7 separate regions of the Homo sapiens genome follow, and regions 1, 2, 4, 5, 6 and 7 are each linked to region 3. Evidence: promoter capture Hi-C in 16 types of primary human blood cells and fetal thymus (Javierre and others, 2016). All regions are on one chromosome and are shown on one strand. The core of a region is centred on a gene start or on the middle of the fragment in contact, and the rest is flanking DNA. Distances in the headings are between cores, read along the strand shown. Region 1 holds the start of NPM1 (nucleophosmin 1). Region 2 holds the start of DOCK2 (dedicator of cytokinesis 2). Region 3 holds the start of MAT2B (methionine adenosyltransferase 2 non-catalytic beta subunit). Region 4 holds the start of CLINT1 (clathrin interactor 1). Region 5 holds the start of MED7 (mediator complex subunit 7). Region 6 holds the start of ITK (IL2 inducible T cell kinase). Region 7 overlaps SPDL1 (spindle apparatus coiled-coil protein 1).

Region 1 (2,700 bases), core at 187-2,686, 7.9 Mb before region 3:
TAAATGTGAACAGACGTTTAATTAACAAATCTCAGCACGGATAATGAACAAGATAAAATTCACGGTAGGATTTGCATTTACTTCAAAGTCTGAATAGTACAAAGATTAGGCTTCTGCAATTAATCCTACTGAGATCAAAAACCCAAGTGGGACTCTCCTTTTTGGGGCAGGACTACCGCAAGTCGAGGGGGGTGGTGCTCCCAAAATTCTGCGAATAGTCTTAGGTCTTGATCTGACTCAAACCGAACACTCTACGTGTTTCTTGTATTTAGAAAAGCAGTTTGGTCAATGCCGCACAAATGGCGGCATGCGAGGACGTCCCCCTAAAACGAAGCCTCATTAATATTCACGAAGCAGCAGCTACGGAGTCAAGCGTCTTGGTTTAGATTTAGTCTCTTATTGCCTTTACTAAGTACAACCTTCGTTAAGTGAGTTTATCTCTGGGCACCAGTATCCTCATCTGCAAAGTGGGGCTAGCTCCACCTACCGCAGTGAGACAGAAAAGGGGCTCAAAAAAATGAGAGCTGCCATCACAGTACATGCTGTAAGCACTGAACAAAGACCTCCAGAACCCTAGTGCTACCAGCCTCTTAACATTTCCCACTTCAACAGAGCCACAGCATCCCTGGCTCACGAGTGGCAACACGCCGGTGAGTCCCGGATGTAGCGCCCACACCCCCCTCCCTCCCCCAACCACGTGGCAACCACGTGCTCCCAGCGGTTGCGGCCTCCTCACGCCGCGCCGCGCCTCCCCACCCCCAGTAACTGGCCGAAGCACGCGAGGTAAGTCTACGTCCGGCAGCTCCAGGCTCTGAGGCCAGAATAACGCCAGGCTGTGCATCTACCCGCTCCAACAAGCAGGCCCATGCTTCCCGGTGAACCCAGCCTCCAGGACCACCAACCCGGGGCCTGGCATCAGAAGCCTATGAACCACCGCCGTTAGAAAATAAACCACGCCTGGAGCTCCGCCACGTATCCCCGGCAAAGGCCGAACTTCCAGGCGGCCGGTTCCACTTTACCTCAGGCCCCGGGCCTCGGACCGCTCACGCCCCAGACGCTTCAGGCCGCTCGTCTCCTCCCCCTTCACGCCACCGGCTCCCCCCGCGGCTCCAATCCCTCCAGGTCCAGGGCTCAGGCAGCTCTTCCCACCCGCTCAGGCCTCCCGTCGGTCTGGCGGTCTCCACCAGACCCGGTTGCAGCCGGATTCCCGCCCCTCACCCCCACCCTCACCGCCACCAGGCCCCGCTCGGCCTCGCTCCAGCTCCCCCCAGCAGTTACCGAAAAGATAGTTCTGGGGCCTCAGGGGGCTCATGTCCATGTCCATCGAATCTTCCATCGGGTGGCGGCACGCACTTAGGTAGGAGAGAAGGCGGACGGAGATAAAAGAACGCTGCTCCAGAGAACAACCGCGCAGGACGGAATCACACCAGGGAAAGGACGCAGGCTCCCCGCGCTTATATATAGACCCTGAAGATCTCGCGAGCGCTTCCCAAGTCCCGCCTCCGCGCGCGTGCTCCGAAGCCCTCCCACCCCCGTACCGTAGCCGTCCTGCGCAAGCGCTTTTCAACCCCACTCCTTTCTACCTCGCCCCCACCTCCTTCCAGGTACTCCGCGGGCTCCCACCGAGCACGCGCACTCGTACACTGGCCCCACCCCTCCGCTGCTGTCGCCTGTGCGCACGCGTGCTTTCCAGTCGTAACGCGCACTCCCCACCTCCAACCCTTCCACGTCCTCTCCCGCTCAAGCGCGCCGGCCTCCCGCCAAGAGTCTGCGCAGCCCACCCTGCAAAATGGCGTCGGCAGCCCTTAGCTGTGTAAGATATGGCGGGTTAGCCGGCTGCGAATGAGCCAGAGAGCACCTCGATTCACCTTTCCCCATCCCCTAGTGCCCTGCAAGCCTCCAAACAGGCGTAATCACTTCAGGAATTTTTTACTTGCCTGAAGGCTTCGGATCGCAGTTAATCGTTACCCCAAAGTTCAGGTGCCAGAGAGAGTGAATTGCGGCTTATTCTTTGTTAGGAAGGAAAGATGTAGTTACCGGCCAGACTTACGGAACTTTGTTTTTCAGCTCTGTCCTTCCTGAGAAAACATCTCCAAAGTCCTTATCTTTACGTAACTTGGGGGCCAAAAGGGGACTGAATCAGTCTCCAAATTAGCAAGGACATCGCCCTAAGAGAGCTCGGAGGGTGGGCCGACTCTGACTTCTTGCCGCTCTTAATCTTTAACATTCCTCCTGAAAGAAAGCGGGTGACTTGTAAGAACTACAGAAGCCTTAATTCGAATATTTGGGAGCGAGCATGGGAATTAACGTTTTAAGCTACACCTTGACAAACTCCGAGGCACCCCAGCACCCCGCGGGCATTGGGGCGTTCTGAAGACCCGTAATCTTTTTTTTTTAAGCCTCAACATATCAAACAAATTTAAGAAGTGAGGAATACAAATGATAGCCTCAGAAAGGAAGACACCCCCACCCCAAGGCATTATTTCTTACAGGAAAATTATAGAGACGATTTCAGTGTCTATCAAGAGAGGAATGAACAGTTAAATTATAACATGTCCATATTATGGGTTAGTTGTGGACACATACTAACGCATAATATGGACATGTTATAATTTAACTGTTCCTTTCTGAGAGCTCCTGTGTCACATAAAGCTTTGAGTCACTTAAATTTGTTATGCCTTTTTTTGTGTGTGTGTGGAG
Region 2 (2,700 bases), core at 133-2,632, 6.1 Mb before region 3:
GGTTCTGAAGCTGCTAGGTAAGACCCTGGACCTGAATCACTAACTCTTATTGAGCCAGCACACTACTAAATGCTTTCCATGCATAACCCCATTCAATCCTCACAAGAGTCTCATGAGACCTGCATTATTATTACTTCCACTTTATAGACGAGGAAACAGACCCTGATTTGAACTCAGTTCTGACTTCCCAGTCCAAGCCTCTAGCCTTACACATAACTCCTCAAGGGCAGAAGCTGTATCCTTCCTTACTTTGTAACTGCCCCTTGAGATATGAATTATTATTTGTTCTCTGGATGGGGACCATTTATATCAAAATGACCCCACAGTGCCCGGTACCCAGTAATTGAGTGGATAACTGCTGATCTCTCCAGGGCAGTGTTTCCCAAACAGTGGCCTGGGGACCCCCTGCATCAAATCCCTCTGGGTGTTTGGGTCTTCCAATGCCTCACCTGCGAAATATTTATCTCTGAGATGGTGTCTGGTATCCGCCTGTGTAGGAAGCTCCAGAGTGACTTTTTATTTGATATTTAAGTTTAAAAACCACAGTGAGTCCATGGAGATTGCACCACGGATGACACTTAGAGTAGCAGCACCTGAGGCCTCCCTTCCCCCAGCCACCACTTCCGCCCCTGAGCTCCAGGCAGAGGCTTCTGGGAGTTTAGATGGCTGAGGCTGACGAAGCTAGCTTCTTGGTTACCCTAAGACCACCTGGCGGGAGCCTTTTTCCCCAGAGGCTCTGGGGGGCTGAGTAGAGAACCCCACCGTCCAGCCCCATTCCCCCAAGCTTGAGCTGCCCTCTGGATGCCCTGCCAAATCAGGAGTCATCTGACCCAGGAGGAACAGACAGGGGAAGCAGGCAAATGGGTGTCGCTTTGGAGGGGGTGGAAGTATGCATGGTGGGCAGGCCAAGGCTGAGCCAGGGGAGAGTGGAGCTCCCTCTACAAGGCCAAGTCTCCCACGCGGCGAGCTGGGGCACTCCTGGGGACGCCGAGTTTGGCGCGAAGAACTGAGTTGTCAAGCGCAGGTCTTGACCCTATCTCGGAAATGTCTAAGGTTCCCTCAGCAGGCGAGAGGGCGAGGGCTGTGCTTAGCCTGCGGGGTGGGGTCCCGCCGTCCTCTCCCCGAGCCTCGGCTTTCCCGCCCCGAGGCCCCGCCGCAGGCTGCGCCCTCTGACCTGCAGGCAGCGCGCCCTGCCCACCCCGCGCCGCCGGCCCCGCAGCATCCTCCTGCTCGCGGCTCTCCCGCCACCTGTCCCGCTCCCTGCCGCGCCCTGGGGCCCGCACCTACCCACGCCGTGCCGCTCCTTGTCAGCTTTGCGCCAGGGGGCCATGGCTGGGCCGGGGCCTCGCGTCCTCCCGTGGGGAAGCCGTCAGGGGGTGGCTGGGCGCCGCAGGGCCCCACTTCCTTCCTCTTTTCAAACTCCTCTCAGGGCCCGCCCTCTCCTCCCTCGCCGGGGCTCCCCGCTCCCTCCTCCCTCCCGTTGGGCAGGGGCACACTAGAAGGCTGGTGCCCCGTAGGCTAAGACACGCCACCCCACCCCACTTCACGCAAAACTTGGGGACCACTCCCACTTTGTCTCCTCCCCAGGCGAGGGAGCAGAGGCCAGTCCCCACCTGGGGCTCGCCAGACCACCACCGCAAGTGCAGAGAGTTTCCTGATTGCCGTGCCTAGGGACTGAACAAACCTCCTTAACTCCCCTCAGCATGAGCTTTGGTGTCAGATCTCGGTTCGAATCCAGACGGGGACAAATGACTTCATTTTTCTAAGCTTCAGTTTTCTCATCTGTGAAATGGGATACTAATACCTACTTCATATGATTATTGTGAGGGTTAGAGAGACAATGTACACAGCAGGTGACATGGAAGAGTAAATGTTTACCTGGAGGTGGATCCTTTACAGCCTTTTTTTTTTTTTTTTGTGAGACGGAGTTTCGAGTTTCTCTCTTGCTGCCCAGGCTGGAGTGCAACGACGCGATCGCGGCTCACCGCGACCTCCGCCTCCCGAGTTCAAGCGACTCTCCTGTCTCAGCCTTCCCAGTAGCTGGGATTACAGGCATGCACCAGCATGCCCGGCTAACTTTGCATTTTCAGTAGAAACGTGGTTTCTCCATGTTGGTCATGCTGGTCTCGAACTCCCCACCTCAGGTGATCCGCCAGCCTCAGCCTCCCAAAGTGCTGGGATTACAGGTGTGAGCCACCGTGCCTGGCCCATTTACAGCTTTTTATCGTTTTGGTGCTACAAACCCGTTGGAAAATCTGATGTAAGCTCTAGAAGCTCTACTCTGAAAATACGTAAATACACTATTTACCAACATCACTGCAAGGTGAAGGGTGCTGTCACAGCCAGCAACAGTGGGACCCAGGAAAAGAGCCCTAGAGTTAGGCTAATGGAGACATTTCCTCGAAAAATCTCATTTTTGCTCTGAGAACAGATTCTGTCCAAAAAAAAAAAAAAAAAGTCTGATCCACAGTGATAAGGCTGAATTTAAGTTTTGCTGAGTTTTCTTTCTTTATTCATGACTCTCACTACCCCTTTCTGCCTTACACTGGAGAGTCATTAAGATAGATTAGGCAATATCACAGCTGAACTGGAGCAACAAAAAATTATTGATTTTGTTTTATCTGCAGTTATTTTCTTTTCTGTTTTCTAGCAGCACAAATTAGGTAATAATGTCTTATACAGTCAGCAGTGGTATTAGGG
Region 3 (2,700 bases), core at 43-2,542:
AATTCTACAGGTTTTGAGAGCAGTAAGTCTGTGCCAAGCTCTTCGTTGTTTCATTTTTAATGAAGGAAAACACGAAAAGCTATTTTCATTTTTATACTGAACTTCTTTTTGTGAAAGTAGATTAAGCTTTATATGCACACGTACACATACAAATGCATACATATAAATGTAAACGTATGTAACATGCACTCAGCACGGTCTGGAGGACCTAGGAACATAGAGGTTTAATAGACCATTTATCCTAACTTTACCCTCAAAGAACCAAAGTGATTTGAAAACCCTAAGTAAATTTGGAAGCATGAAAACTTTGCAATAACAGAAACAGCCATCTCCTATATTCTCTACTCTCTCCAAAAGACATGGTCTGGGCATTAGTAGTGTTCTTATCCCCAGGGTTGGATATGTTCTGTGGACAGATTAATGCTGGAGGCCCTTAAGTGGAATGGAGCAGGATGGGACGGGGGCGAGGGGGGCACCAGAGATGGATCTTCCAATCATCACCATAATCTTCCTTCAGGGAAACTCCGTAGTGGTTCAAAGCCCAAGACAGTCACACAAACCTGTATCTGAATTCCAGGCTCCAACCTTACGGAATGAACCTGGGCCAATGTCTCACCCTCTATGCCCGTTTTCTCGTCTACAAAATGAGGCAATAACAAGTATCTCACAGTGGAGGATTAAAGTAATGCCCGTCAAGTGCATAACATAGTGCTGAGAACTTAAGAGTTCAATAAGTTGTCATCTCCAGCACTGTTATTTGTGAGAAGTCACCTTTTCCTGTTCTTTCTCAAACCTACGAACTTGTAAGATCGAGAAATACGAACCAAAGATGAATAAACGGGGAAAACCAAAATCAAAACAAACAATTCTGAAAAACCTCTTCGTCCTCAGGAGCAGAGACAGAACTCGAAAGTAAAACCTCCACCTACTTGCTTCCTGCCGCAGTGGCTGGAAGAAAAAAACACTGACCCGTGTGCGCTGAGATAAACAAACTCGGTGGCGCCCCCCTCGGATCCGGGGCTGGGAGGGTGGCGGTGAGACCACTCCCGGCCGGAGGCTCTGACCCGGGCGGAATACGCCTGCAAAGCCGCCCGAGCCCCGGTGGCTCGTCCCCCTCGGCGCCCCCGCTCCCACCGGAGACGCCCAGGCCGACTCCCTCACCTCCACCAGCCGACAGCTCCCGGGAACAAAGTGTATAGAGAGCTCTTTCTCCCGCCCCACCATGCCCGCCGTCTTCACGCCGCAGCCTCAGCGGCCGCCACCTCCTCCAACCCAGGATCGACGCGGGCCTCAGCTCAGACGCCCTCGGCCCGCCTCCCCTAGGCCCAGAACGACCCCGCTCGCCGCTTCCGGCTTCCGCTGCCATAGCCGCGCCCGTTGATTGGCCACGCTCCGCCGACGCCCCAGAAAGAGGGCGGGTACGCGCGGTCTGCCCCCAGCCCACGCGCCGATGCTTAAAGCGACACACAAAAGAAAGGCCCTGACCTTAGGCAGTGAATTCAGGTTTTGTTTCGGAGATTTTATTTGAGTGCTTTTTATTCTACTTTTTTTCCTTTTTTTCTTGACTCGGGAAAAGATTGAAGTGGATCGCCTTGAGTTTCAAGTTTGCAGACTGCGCAGTGCATGAGGATCGACTGAGCAATATAAAAAGTGGAATAAAAAGCATTTTAAAGTCATGGGGGCGGGGGCGGAGGTGGGTAGAGCATAATGGACACATCTCTAGAGCTCTAGGTGGGGGTTTTGAAAGATTTAGAAAAAGACAAGGAATAAAAATAAAAGGGTTGGCGTCTGAGCCATTTGTCTTCCTGGGATGCTTAAAAAAAGAAAAAACCTGTGTGTGAGATATCAAAAATGTAAAACTATTTTTAACTAATTAAAAATAAAAAGTTGTAGGGGGAAGGAAGATGAACTACTTAGGTACCTCTTCAAAACGCAGATCCTTGGACTTTACCCATAATTACAGAACAAGAAACGAGCCCGGGGTCCGACTTCTTAATGGGTTTAACCAGAATCAAGCCCACTCTTTAAGAAACACCGCCTCGGGGATTGCAGGATTGGGCCACACGAGCCCAGCCTTGGTGAGCACCGAGAATTTAAGCAGCAGCGTGTAAGGCTGGGCGTTCTACCACCTTTTAAAAGTTAAGCAGCCCTAAGTGCTGATGCCGACTTATTTCCCTTCCAGTTAAAAACCGCAAAAAATCCTCAGCCAGGCTGGACGCCTGTGAAATTGATGCAGAAAGTAAACCCTGGCACAGGCCGTGTAGGATTTGCCAACTTTGCACCGAACAGTCCAAGGGTTCTTGTGTGCCCAGGATAGCAAGCTCTAAACGTCGTCCACAAACGTGACCACTGTCTGGATTTTCCTAGGGCCTTTCCCCGACTCCTAAACCTTTTTGGTTTATTTTCAAACTAAAGACTAAGCAGCCTTTTAAAGAAGTTTTCCACGTCAGAACACCATGACTTTCCTTCCTCCTCAACCCCCAACAAAAACTCATTTCCTTATTCGTGTAAACATAAAGTTTCTCTAGAACAGTAATCGAAGACAGCCTGAGGTTTCTTATGTTCCGATTTTTTTTTTTTTTAAACACAGGCTATTACTGTTCATTAGTTTGGCTTTATTTAGGGAATCCTTGAGGACTGCCCCAGCGCTAAACAAGCATAATCAGGGGACAACAAAGAAGAGGGCGGGAAGAGGGCCGG
Region 4 (2,700 bases), core at 63-2,562, 5.6 Mb after region 3:
CGTCTTTTCAGGCTTTTGCATTTCTGACAAACGGATGACCCCACCCAGACCAGCCACTCCTCTGCTGGCCCTCCATCAAGAAGCCGATTCAGCAAAGGAGAACCATTTTCCATACTCCTCTGATTGCATCCCTAACCAATCAGCAGCACCCATGCCCTAACCCTCTGCTCACCAAACTATCTTTGAAAAACTCTAGCTTCCAAATGTTCAGGAAGATTGATTTGAGTAATAACTCTGTCTCTCAAGTGGCATGGCCAGCCTCATGTCAAACTCTTCACTGCAATGACTTGGTCGCAGTGAATTGACTTTATCTGTAAAGTGGGCAGAAAGAACCCGCTAAGCAATTACACTATATGCAATTATCTTAAATGTTTCCTTGATTATTATATGTTTCTTCCAATTACGTTTGAATTCCAAGAGAGCTGGGTCTTTAACTATATTCCCCACTTCTGGAACATACAAGATGCTCAATAAATATTTGTAGAATGAAAAGAACTGTAAAATTTCAGCAGATGGATCAAATGAAACTTAAGGTTGCTTGTAGCTTTAACATGAGCATTGATAAAAATGAGTAAGTAGAGAAGGAAGTGATGACAACCATTGCAACAAAGCAATGGAAGCAATGTGCATATTTATCCTTAAAAAACACAAACCTGTCATATGTATGTGTATGTGTGCGTGTATATATAATGTTGGCTTTTTAGTTTCCCGTGGAGTGTGAACTGAGTTTCTGAGGTTTATAGTAAAGCATTTAACAAGGATTTCAGGTAGTTGTCTAAATATAAAACATTGTATCATAGAATTAGAGCGGAAAAGGATTTAGAATACAAGTTCTTCAATTTTACAGGGGTGGAAACTAAGGCCTAGAGATCTAAGTGTACTTGGGCATTGGGAAATAAATACAGCGATGTGTCTGTCGATGAGGAATGCGTATGCCAATCATACTTCTGTATAATCATTACTAATAACATAGTAATACTGCCTTACATTTGAAAAGTGTTTGAGTGTGACTAGACCCTGCACCAGTGGTTCTGAAACTTGAGCGTGATCAGAATCACCTAGAGGATTTGTAAAAGCACAGATCGCTGGGCCCCACCTCCAAAATTTCTGGCTCGGTAGGTCTGGGGCCGGGGACTGGGAAAGCTTAAGAGAAACCATCCCAACTCCTCTCAGCTCTCCCAACTCAACCTCTCAGCTCTCCCAACTCAACCGGCCGAGCTCGGCACTCAGGGAAAACTACAAGTCCCGGCGTGCCCCGCGCGCAGCGGCGGAAAGTCGGACACTTCCGCTCCACGCAGCGCCTGTGCTGCCGCGTCTCGACGTGTCACCGGCGGCGCCGCTGCTGTGGCAAAGGAAGGAGCTGACTGGGGGAGTTCGAGGCGGCGGGCGGCGGTGACCCCGGCCTGGAACTGCCCCGGTACGGAAGTGTTCCGGGGTCCGTGGGGAGCAGGAGAGGGAGGCGGCGGACCGTCCCGCGCGGGGCACGATGTTGAACATGTGGAAGGTGCGCGAGCTGGTGGACAAAGCGTGAGTATCGGGGGGCAGTTGTGGCCGAGGCCCACGTGGGGGAGGGGGGAGGGGGAGAAGGAGCTGGCCTTGGGCTAGGGGTTGCCCACGTCACGCCCCCTGGCTCTGCCAGCCCCATCATGGCGGCGGCCCGCTCCTTCCCGGCCCCGGGCCTCATCCCCGCTGGCGAGGCTGGGGAGGGACCCTCCCTCGTTTTAAAAAAAAACATCCTCTTGGCCACCCTTCTCTCCTTTCCAGGCCTTCCCGTCCCTTCCCCTATTCCAACCCCTGGGTGCCGACGCTTTGGTCATAAGGGGCGGGTTGTTTGGCGCTGGGTCACTGCCCTGGCCGGAGGACTGTCTTGGCCCCAGGCCGTGGGCTTTGCCTCCTGGGGAGCAGGGAAGGTTTGGGGGTGGGGGGCACAATGCACTGGTTCCCTGTGTCCCTCAAGGTGTAGTACGGAGAGACCTTAGACCTGGTTGGGGTGTGTCTTTTATCTTCCTTGCCTCCTCTTAATTCCTAATGAACCTGAAGTGTTGGAGTGGGTGGTAGTAGTGTAACAAGTGGCTATTGTGGTCAGCCTGAAGTTACTCAAGAAGACACTCATCCTTTGCTTTTCTAACACTAGTGAAAGTAGATCACTATATGACTTCTTGCGATTTTTTCTTCTGTTTCTTTTTCCACTACACATCATTTTTGGTGTGCTACTTGTTCCATTCGATTAAATTAAGAGGTCATTAAGAAATGTCCTCTTAAGGAAAAAAACAACCCAGGTTTATATCCTGTTGATCTGCTTTTAAAAGCAGGTAAAACGACCAGTACGTAGTTGATTTCCTTTAAGACTGAAATAACTTTAGTCTCTTACTTGCACAAGGAAAACCTTAACTTTTAAAATGAGTATATCAGGTATAACAGTGGTTAAGTAAGGTCTTCTAGGCCAGCAGGAAATAAAGTTTAAGAATTTAAGCAGTCCTCTTCCTTTGGGGCTTTAATGATTATGCAATAAGTGTGGTGAGAAAAACAGTTGATTTGTGCCACCCACCTAACCTAAAATCAGGAAGTATAGATAGCAAACTGTTTTCTTGACACCAGGAAACAAAGTAATTTCCAGTGCCTTGTCTGATACATCAGATAGAACTTAGAGCTTGACCATATTTTTATATTTTCTGTGCTACCAAGAAGGCAATAGAGTGC
Region 5 (2,700 bases), core at 37-2,536, 6.4 Mb after region 3:
CGGTGGTCAGTCATATTTGGAACTTTATTTACTTATTTTTAAATAGATCTAATGCAAAAGGCTGGTATGGTAGTTTCGGTGGGGTATGTGAGAAAGGAGAAAAAGGTGATTCCTTCGATTGAACATTTGCAATTGAGTAAAGTGCAACTGGGGAAAGATGTCTGTCACCACTGGATATGAGGGTCTGAAGTGCAGAGGAAACGGTGTTCCAGGGCCTGCATGTAATCATCCAGCTGATATCTGACTGAGAAGTGGTTGGAGAACTGAGTCCTGGGGCAATCCATTAATCAAATGTGCCAAATGCTGCTGACAGATGGAGTAAAATGAGGACTGGGAACGACCATTGGAAGTCACTGGTGCAGGATACATTGGGGTCAGCGGTGAGGAGAAAAGCTGGATTGGGTTATGCTCAACGTAGATGGATTTCTTCAGGAAATAAATTGATACGTGCGAGGGATTTAAAATGGGGGAGTCCGGAAGTGGTGGTTCACGCCTACAATCCCAGCACTTTGGGTGGCCGAGGCGGGCGGATCACTTCATATCAAGAGCTCGAGATGAGCCTCGCCAACACGGTGAAACCCTGTCTCTACCAAAAATACAAAAAAAAGAAAAAAAAATAGGTGAAACCCCAACTATTCGGGAGGCTGAGGCACGAGAATCGCTTGAATCCCGGAGACTGAAGTTGCAGCGAGCCGAAATCGCGCCACTGCAGTCCAGCCTGGGCGAAAGAGAAAGACTCCGTCTCAAAGAAAAAAACAACAAAAAAACCCTGCATGTCTATATTTTCGAATTTGTATGTAAGACGTCTTAATTGTATGCGTTAAATTAAAAAAGGACAAAAGGAATGGAACTACCAGCAGCGACTAAGTCAGTAAAAGAGTGGTAATGGGGAAGGGGGTGGAATATACGCAGGCGCAATAGCAAGCGTTTCTTTTGGAGGTTATTTTCGTGTCATAAATTTCTAAATTCACGTTAAGTCTTACAAGAGCATGTTAAACATTAAAACATAAGATTGTTTCTGGTCAATAAGGGGTCTATAAAAAATAAAGCAATAAGGTGTCTTGTTCAATTTTATGCCTTAATTCAAAAAGAAACGAAGAAACGGAACCCTCAGCTACGACTTTTAAAAGTCAGTAACGGGTGGATGGGAGGAGTCAAACATACGTAGGCGCAACAGCGAGGGATCGGTCTGAGGCGGAGCTAGAATTTCGTTAAAGGACAGCTCTTACAGCCAATCAAGGACAGAGTCGGTGGCTTCTTCCCGGAGGAGACCGGAAGTTGGTTTCGGCTGCAGAGGGGAAGGCGGCTACCAGTGTAAAGCCAGAGCTGAGGTAAGTGGGCGGCAACGGTTTGGGGCCGCCGCCTGTGTGCGTTTTTTTCTTCCGGACCCCGCAGCTTCCTCTGTGCTGGGCTGGGAACTGGGGAGGCATGGCTGAGTTCGGCCTCCAAAGGCGGTCTTTCGTCTTTCTCTCCCGAGTCTCTCCGAGAGTGCGGTCTCTCCGAGAGCGCGGAGGCCTCGGGGTGGACAGCCTGGAGGAGGGGGCTCTAAGCGTGGCAGTCTCGGGGCTTCCTCCGTGTTGGGACGCCGAGCCGGAGTGGAGGTTGGGAGACCTGGCGTCTAGTCCCCGCGCCGCTGTTTTTCTAAGCTGTGTGGCCTTGGGCGAGTCATTTGCCCTCTCCGGCTCTTTGTAACATGAGAGTAGCCCTCCCTGCCCTTCCTTCTTCTGGGAGCAGTTATGAAACAGCTGAGGTATGGGGGCAGGCGAGGGCGGTAGATCCCAAGCCTAATCGTCAGGTCCATCTGGAGAGGTTTTAAAAGCGACATTCTAGGGCCCATTCACAGTAGACAGAATGAATCAAATCTCTGGGGCTGGGACCCTGGAATGTCTGTCGTCTTCTGGTGAAGCTCCTTCTCCCCCAGTAGAACAAACACTAGATGTTGGATCTTGAGTTAAGAACCAGCTCTGATGCTTGGCTCTGCTTTTATTAAAAATAAGACCTCCATCACCTTTGAAAAGTTCCATCTAGAGAGACAGTAGAGAAAGAAATATAATTTTTGTGATATGCCAGTCCTTATTGTACAGTTAGATGCTTCTCGGCTTAGGGATATAAGAGAGCTTGCCCTTTGGAGCTAAAGGGACCTGGGATAAGAATTCCTGTTGTGCCATTTATTAACCTTTTGATCTGGGGCAACACTTCCCCTCATTGAGACTTCGGATCCTCACTTCTAAAATGAAATTGATAATAGAACTTAATTCGTGGGACCGTGTGGTGGCTCACGCCTGTAATCCCAGCACTTTGGGAGGCCGAGGTGGGCGGATCACTTGAGGTCAGGAGTTCCAGACCAGCCTGGCCAACATGGTGAAAACCTGTCTTTACCGAGAAATACAAAAATTAGCTGGGCGTGGTGGTGCGCACCTGTAGTCCCCAGCTACTCAGGAGGCTCAGGCAGGAGAATCCCTTGAACCCGGGAGGCAGAGGTTGCAGTGAGCCCTGATGGTACCACTGCACTCCAGCCTGGGAGACAGATTGAGCCCTTGTCTCAAAAAACAAAACTAACAACAAAAACCCCAAAAACCTTAATTCATAGAATTGTTAATGAAGATTATGTTACAGAGGCCATAAAAAATGGTACCTGTCATGTAGTTGGCCTTAGGAAAATGGCAGCCGCAATACAGGAATGCACATCGTGTAGGAAAG
Region 6 (2,700 bases), core at 46-2,545, 6.3 Mb after region 3:
CAGTAAGAAATCAAACATGCTTTGAAAAATTGCAGCATAGGGCTAAACAAGAGCCACTGCATAAAGCAAAGAAGTTTTGAAGAAGAAAGGGATCTTGAAGGTTGTTATTTCCAGTTTTTTCATTTTATGAAGAAAGAACCTGAAACAGGAGGTAGACATTTGCCCAGACTGGATCACCTACTGAGAAGTAGAGTTTGGTCTCCTGACCCTTTGTCCAATGCTTTTTCTACCAAACTACATTATTAGGATTATTCCTGTTGCTTTTGTTATTAGTGATGTTAAGAAGCACAAGACTATTTTTAGATAAAGAGATAGACTGACCTAGCAAAGCAGCCATACTCCTTCTGGGTAAGAACCGCTGGTCTGCACTGCAGAAACTTTGTTCTTAATAACCCTGGTGTCCTAAGAAGTCTATCAAGAGATGAAGAGGTTTGCCATTGTGCCTTACAACTTTTAGATAATTAAATGCCTGGGAAATCTTATTTCAAGATCAGGCTAGCGACGAGTATTGAGACAAACAGAGTTATTCATGAAAACGTTAACACTGAACCCAAAACTTAACCATTCTAAACACCAGTTTCTTCCACTAAAAAATAAGAAAGCTGGGGTAGATCATCCCATTGAATGCTAGTGTTGTATTAATCTATGTTTCATTAAATTTAGTATGTTTCATTAAATTTAGTATGTTTCATAGAAAGTTCAAGTTTTATCGAATCATAATACTTGCTACCTAAAATGTTATTCATAATTTAAAAACCAAACATAACCTTGCAGGGGGAAAAAGCTGATGAATGTTAAATTTACAGTTTTTAGAACTGAAATCACCTAGCACCACCATTTCACCTCTTGACTGCTCTCTGCATTCTCCTCTGATTACTTTTACTGTACTTTTTATGTTGTTACAATAAGCATGTTTGTGTTTCCTGTGCTCTATTTTATGCTATGTATATATTTTTGCATTAGCCCAGTCCAAACATAAAATGCTATGCGAAAAAAGACAAATGAAACTGCTCACATACCCCATGACGATCTTCAAAGTATGCCAGGCTGGCTTTGGTTAACACAAAGAAGCGGACTTTAAAGTTCGAGGGAGAAGTTCTTCTCTTTTGTTGGGATTTCTTGATGAGCTGTTCTTCCAGGAGGATAAAGTTGTTCATGATCCAGTTCTTGAAAGGTGGTGCACCTTGGGCATCACCTCTTAGCACAACCAAAGGAAAGAGTTTTGGGGCAAAGAATGCAATGTGGAGGCAGTTGATCTTCAGAGAGCTGCTCAAGGGCAACTTGCCTTCAACGTTATCTTTCTATCAACGTTCAGCCAACATAGCTGAGCTTCTCCTCTGATGTCAAAGGCCGAAACCACATCCTTTCAAAATTCACAAAACGAGGAGGCATATGTAAAAAATACATACAGCCTTTGCTAATGGCTTGAAATGATATTTGAAAAACTGTAAACTCAAAATTGTGGTAAGGATTACAGTTTAATCTTTATAGTTCCTGGTTTAATCCATCCAGCAGTTAAATCATGTAGCACAAGGAGTAAGGACAATGTGTGGTTTTGCTTACCATGATATACTCAGCAACCATCACAGTACCTGACACATAAAACAGATGTTCAAGAAAAATTTGTTGAATGGATCATCACCAAATTGGGTTGGACAATTAAAAGAGGTAATGAGCACAAAACCCTCACACATTAAAGTGAAGAAATATGTTGCTGAAGTTTATTAGTTTTTAAGATTTAAATTAAAGCCCATAGAAATTTCTCAATGCTACATATAGATGACTGCCTTTCTGTCCTGACGTTTTGTGGAAGAGTGAAAAATAAGTGAATCCTTCAGAATGGCATAATAAACAAAGTATATGTGGGCTTTGAAAACAGACAAACTTGTGTTGGATTCCCAGCTCTGTCACTTACTATGCTGTTTCTCTTTGAGCAAGCCATGACTTCTCTGATCCTTAGCTTCCTTGTGAGGGTCCTTTGGAGGACTGAATCCCATACATCTTATGAATGGTAGGTGCTAGTCATACATGTCACCTTAGAGTTAGTACATAGTTGAAGTATAATGTGTGACAGTTACCTCTACTATGTTAATAATCAAGAGATTTTAGTGTAAGCAGATATTGCATGTAGTGGGTAGGGATAAATAATAAATGAAATAATAATTATTGCTGTATAGGAGTGAAATTCTCCAATGTTTATTTTTAAATGTAAATTACCAGACAACAGCCTAATTTTATTTCATATACTGGATGCCCCAGCATAATCAAGACACCCAGGAGGGTACGGTACTGGTATATTTTAAATTACCTCCCCCATTCTGAGATTCTTAAGACATATGTGTGGAAATACACTGCCCAAACAAGATAGTATTTTTTTTTTCTGAGTATGGGCTTGAGGTAGGGATTGCTACTATTCCCAAATAGCTACTCTCTCCTTCTTACTAGAGTAACAGAATCCCTGACAGTTATCTGGGCATCTGGCCAGCAAGAATAAAGACTACAAATTTTAGCCTCCCTTGTAGCTAGGTGTAGTTGTATGACTGTCTTCTGGTCAACTGAATGTAGCAGAAGTCGTGTGCACAACTTCTAGGAAATTTCCTTAGTGGGATCTGTCATCCCCTTTTCTTTCCCTTTTCCTCCTGCCTTGTGACTAGAATATTGAGGTAACAGTTGGAGCTGAAGCAGCTATCTAGTATCATG
Region 7 (2,700 bases), core at 201-2,700, 6.1 Mb before region 3:
GGGCAACTTTACATTACATAGTAAGGGCTGACCTCTCCGCTGAAGTGACATTTAAATGAAAGCTGAAATCTGAGGACTCAACCCAAGAGCAGTGAGGGGTAAACAACTCAAAAAAAAAAAAAAGGCAATAGCTGGTGTAAAGCCCATAAGGGAGGACCAGTATAGTCAAGAACAAGGCAAAGCAGTTTGAGGTGAGGTCAGAAGCTTGGCAGGGGTCAGGTCACATAGGGATCTACAAACCCAAGGATGGAGCTCAGATTTTGTTGTAAATAAAATCAGAAGCTGTTGTATGGTTTTTAGCAGGGCTGTGGCATGACCTTTGGTGTGTTATTCCACGACCACTTAGACGCTGAGTGAAGAATGAATGGCATGAATGGCAACAATGGAAGCAGGCAACCCGGCCAGAAGGCTACAATACTTGTCTAGGAGTGATGATGGTGATCTGGACTACAGTGCCAGTAGCAAAGATACATGCTTTGTAGTCTAGTTCTTAGAACTTATTAATGAGTGAAATGTGAGAAATAAAGGGAAGATATTGACTAAAAGTTCTAGATTTTTGGTATATAAAGAAACCAAAAATATACCAAAAATCTTTGGTATATAAAGATTTTTGGTGTTCAAGAAACTGAATGCTATTATATTTACTAAATAAGCTAAAAAAAATCGTAAAAGAATATTTGGTTAACGGACAGGGAATCCACTCTTCTGTCTGTGTTAAGTTTGAGAAGTCTATTAGTGGGCAGTTGAACACAAACCTAGATTTCATGGGGGAACTAAGGGCTTGGTGTAGTGTCATGGGGCACTTAGATGTTTAGAGGTCTAAAACAAGTGAGGTCTTCTAGGAAGTGTGCAGACAAAGCAAAATCTGGTAGTAAATGTGGCAAAGAGAGTAATGATAACTTGATCTTTCAAACTCTGAATACACTAGGGTGGAAAGAATAACAGGAATTCATTTAGTTCATTCTTTTTTAACAGGGACGGGGCAGGGCGGGAACTAGATCTAAAATCTTCAGAAAAGAATAAACTACTACTACTATTAATTGCTAAACAGGACAAATCTTCAATAGCTAAGCACACTCTTGCAGACAGAGGAGTCCAGAGTCCTACCTCAGTCATGGTCATCATTTCATTACGACATTTATCCAATTGATTCTGTAATTCATTTTGACTCTCTACTAGTTGTAAACCATACTGTGCAGCTTTTAGTCGCTCTTCTTCAGCCTCTTTGAGCCTGCATCGAAGATTTGTGATTATATCTGCCTCCATGTTCTTTTCTTTTTTTTAGCCAACTGTAAATAGAGGAAATAAAACTACTTAAGCTTATACAAAAAACTCCATGCAATAATATCAATAACAGAAGAAACATATCTACTCAATACTACTGTCGTATAAAAACATTAAAATTTTCTTCCTGACTAATAAGTAGTCAAATTTGCATTCTTGTTCCAAGAGCAAGAACTGTTCTGACAATTCTGTTACTGATTTGGGATCAAAAATTAAAGAGTGGAATAGAATACATTTAATTTTGCTTCTAAACAGTTCACCATCAGAAAACTGTTCAGTTGTTGTATGCTAAGCTTCCAATATGTTAAGGTAAGTTTGGTCTCATAATTGGACCACTATCCATATAATCAAAATTAAGGGAATAACAAAAAAGTAATCAAGAAACCTCATAGTAGCAGGTATGGTGGCTCATGCTTGTAATCCCAGCAACTGGGGAGGATTACTTGAGGCCAGGAATTCGAGACCAGCCTGAACAACATAGCAAGACTCCATCTCAATCAATCAATCAATAGAAATAAGGTGGGGATGGTGGCAAGCCCCCGTAGTCCTAGCTACTTGGGAGGCTAAGGAAGGAAAATTGATGGAGTTAGAGGCTTCAGTGAGTTATGATCATGGCACTGACAGAGCAAGACACTGTCTTGAGAAATAATAATGATAATAACAATAATACCACCAGAAAAGGAAGGTCTGGGTACTATAAACACATAAAATATAAAAAGGCAGCTGTGAATAAGGCTCATAAGGTAAAGTAAGAAATATCATGTCTGTAATTTTTCACAACAGTGTTAACTTCCTGAATATATTAAATCTGCTTTCCTGGAAAGAGATTCACTAGTATTTTTCTAGTTATTCATAAAAGTATGCAAAAATAGAAACCATATCCATAAGAATTAAAGGATGTTGCTTTCATTCTAGATTTATAAACAAAGACTTAAACATTATATATAGAAACATTCCACTTTAATCAACCTTACTAATTATCCTTTACTATTTGGTCCCAGCCTCCTAAGCGAGACTCAAACTCACCTTTGCCTTCAAAGGGCACCAGGTCATTGCAAGATGTTCCCCCATGTCTCAAGTCAATGTAGTCATTCACTGAACGAGTATTTCTTGAATGCCTTATATACTAGGTTCCATTCTGGGCAGTTCAGATTCATTAGGGAACAAAATGGACGAAAAAAAAGCTCCTCCCTCATGAAACTTACATTCCAGGAGGGGAAGATAAACAGTAAGTAACAGAATATTAATAAATTAGAAAGGGGAGATGAGAAAAAATAGAACAGAATAAGAATCTGGGAAGAAGGGACAGGTGATGTAACCAGGAGGCAGAAGATGAGAGAATCAGCCAGGCAGCTATTTAGAAGAAGAATGTTCCAGCAAGAGGGGAATCCTTAAGGCAGGAAGAAGCCCAGGGAG

Evidence for each region. The method cuts DNA at HindIII sites, captures the fragments that hold promoters and counts their contacts. A CHiCAGO score of 5 or more calls a contact.
Region 1: a contact is called between the fragment with the promoter of NPM1 here and the fragment with the promoter of MAT2B in region 3, in 3 of 17 cell types (total CD8 T cells, total CD4 T cells and naive CD8 T cells). The highest score is 8.2, in total CD8 T cells.
Region 2: a contact is called between the fragment with the promoter of DOCK2 here and the fragment with the promoter of MAT2B in region 3, in 8 of 17 cell types (non-activated CD4 T cells, naive CD8 T cells, fetal thymus and 5 more). The highest score is 21.4, in non-activated CD4 T cells.
Region 4: the fragment with the promoter of CLINT1 here is called in contact with the fragment with the promoter of MAT2B in region 3 in 1 of 17 cell types (activated CD4 T cells); the score reaches 8.7 in activated CD4 T cells.
Region 5: the fragment with the promoter of MED7 here is called in contact with the fragment with the promoter of MAT2B in region 3 in 8 of 17 cell types (fetal thymus, naive CD8 T cells, total CD8 T cells and 5 more); the score reaches 15.5 in fetal thymus.
Region 6: the fragment with the promoter of ITK here is called in contact with the fragment with the promoter of MAT2B in region 3 in 1 of 17 cell types (total CD4 T cells); the score reaches 5.6 in total CD4 T cells.
Region 7: a fragment that was not itself captured here is called in contact with the fragment with the promoter of MAT2B in region 3 in 1 of 17 cell types (total CD8 T cells); the score reaches 7.0 in total CD8 T cells.

What each region holds. Positions count from the first base shown.
Region 1 is chr5:171,386,585-171,389,284 of GRCh38, reverse strand. It overlaps NPM1 (nucleophosmin 1), which reads right to left and starts at 1,436. Exons shown (of 11, transcript NM_002520.7): 1 at 1,279-1,436. The coding sequence starts at 1,336. MIR3912 (microRNA 3912) reads left to right here and starts at 2,525; the gene lies at 2,525-2,629. RefSeq lists silencers at 716-775, 1,096-1,155. The HindIII fragment of the contact is 7,200 bases long and covers 1-2,654 here.
Region 2 is chr5:169,635,957-169,638,656 of GRCh38, reverse strand. It overlaps DOCK2 (dedicator of cytokinesis 2), which reads right to left and starts at 1,382. Exons shown (of 52, transcript NM_004946.3): 1 at 1,288-1,382. The coding sequence starts at 1,330. RefSeq lists an enhancer at 585-684 and silencers at 945-1,004, 1,035-1,514. The HindIII fragment of the contact is 983 bases long and covers 787-1,769 here.
Region 3 is chr5:163,504,211-163,506,910 of GRCh38, reverse strand. MAT2B (methionine adenosyltransferase 2 non-catalytic beta subunit) reads right to left here and starts at 1,292. Exons shown (of 7, transcript NM_013283.5): 1 at 1,162-1,292. The coding sequence starts at 1,224. RefSeq lists a silencer at 976-1,115 and enhancers at 1,286-1,405, 1,446-1,535, 753-1,559. The HindIII fragment of the contact is 7,455 bases long and covers 129-2,700 here.
Region 4 is chr5:157,857,757-157,860,456 of GRCh38, reverse strand. CLINT1 (clathrin interactor 1) reads left to right here and starts at 1,312. Exons shown (of 12, transcript NM_014666.4): 1 at 1,312-1,527. The coding sequence starts at 1,487. RefSeq lists enhancers at 1,024-1,263, 1,101-1,682. The HindIII fragment of the contact is 1,599 bases long and covers 1,146-2,700 here.
Region 5 is chr5:157,141,451-157,144,150 of GRCh38, reverse strand. MED7 (mediator complex subunit 7) reads left to right here and starts at 1,286. Exons shown (of 2, transcript NM_004270.5): 1 at 1,286-1,331. RefSeq lists enhancers at 659-758, 1,569-1,618. The HindIII fragment of the contact is 9,177 bases long and covers 1-2,700 here.
Region 6 is chr5:157,179,435-157,182,134 of GRCh38, reverse strand. It overlaps ITK (IL2 inducible T cell kinase), which reads right to left and starts at 1,295. Exons shown (of 17, transcript NM_005546.4): 1 at 1,020-1,295. The coding sequence starts at 1,157. The HindIII fragment of the contact is 39,229 bases long and covers 1-2,700 here.
Region 7 is chr5:169,586,983-169,589,682 of GRCh38, reverse strand. SPDL1 (spindle apparatus coiled-coil protein 1) reads right to left here. Exons shown (of 12, transcript NM_017785.5): 2 at 1,108-1,289. The coding sequence starts at 1,266. Among named protein-coding and RNA genes, the nearest start is that of SPDL1, 4.6 kb to the right of the region's middle. The HindIII fragment of the contact is 258 bases long and covers 1,322-1,579 here.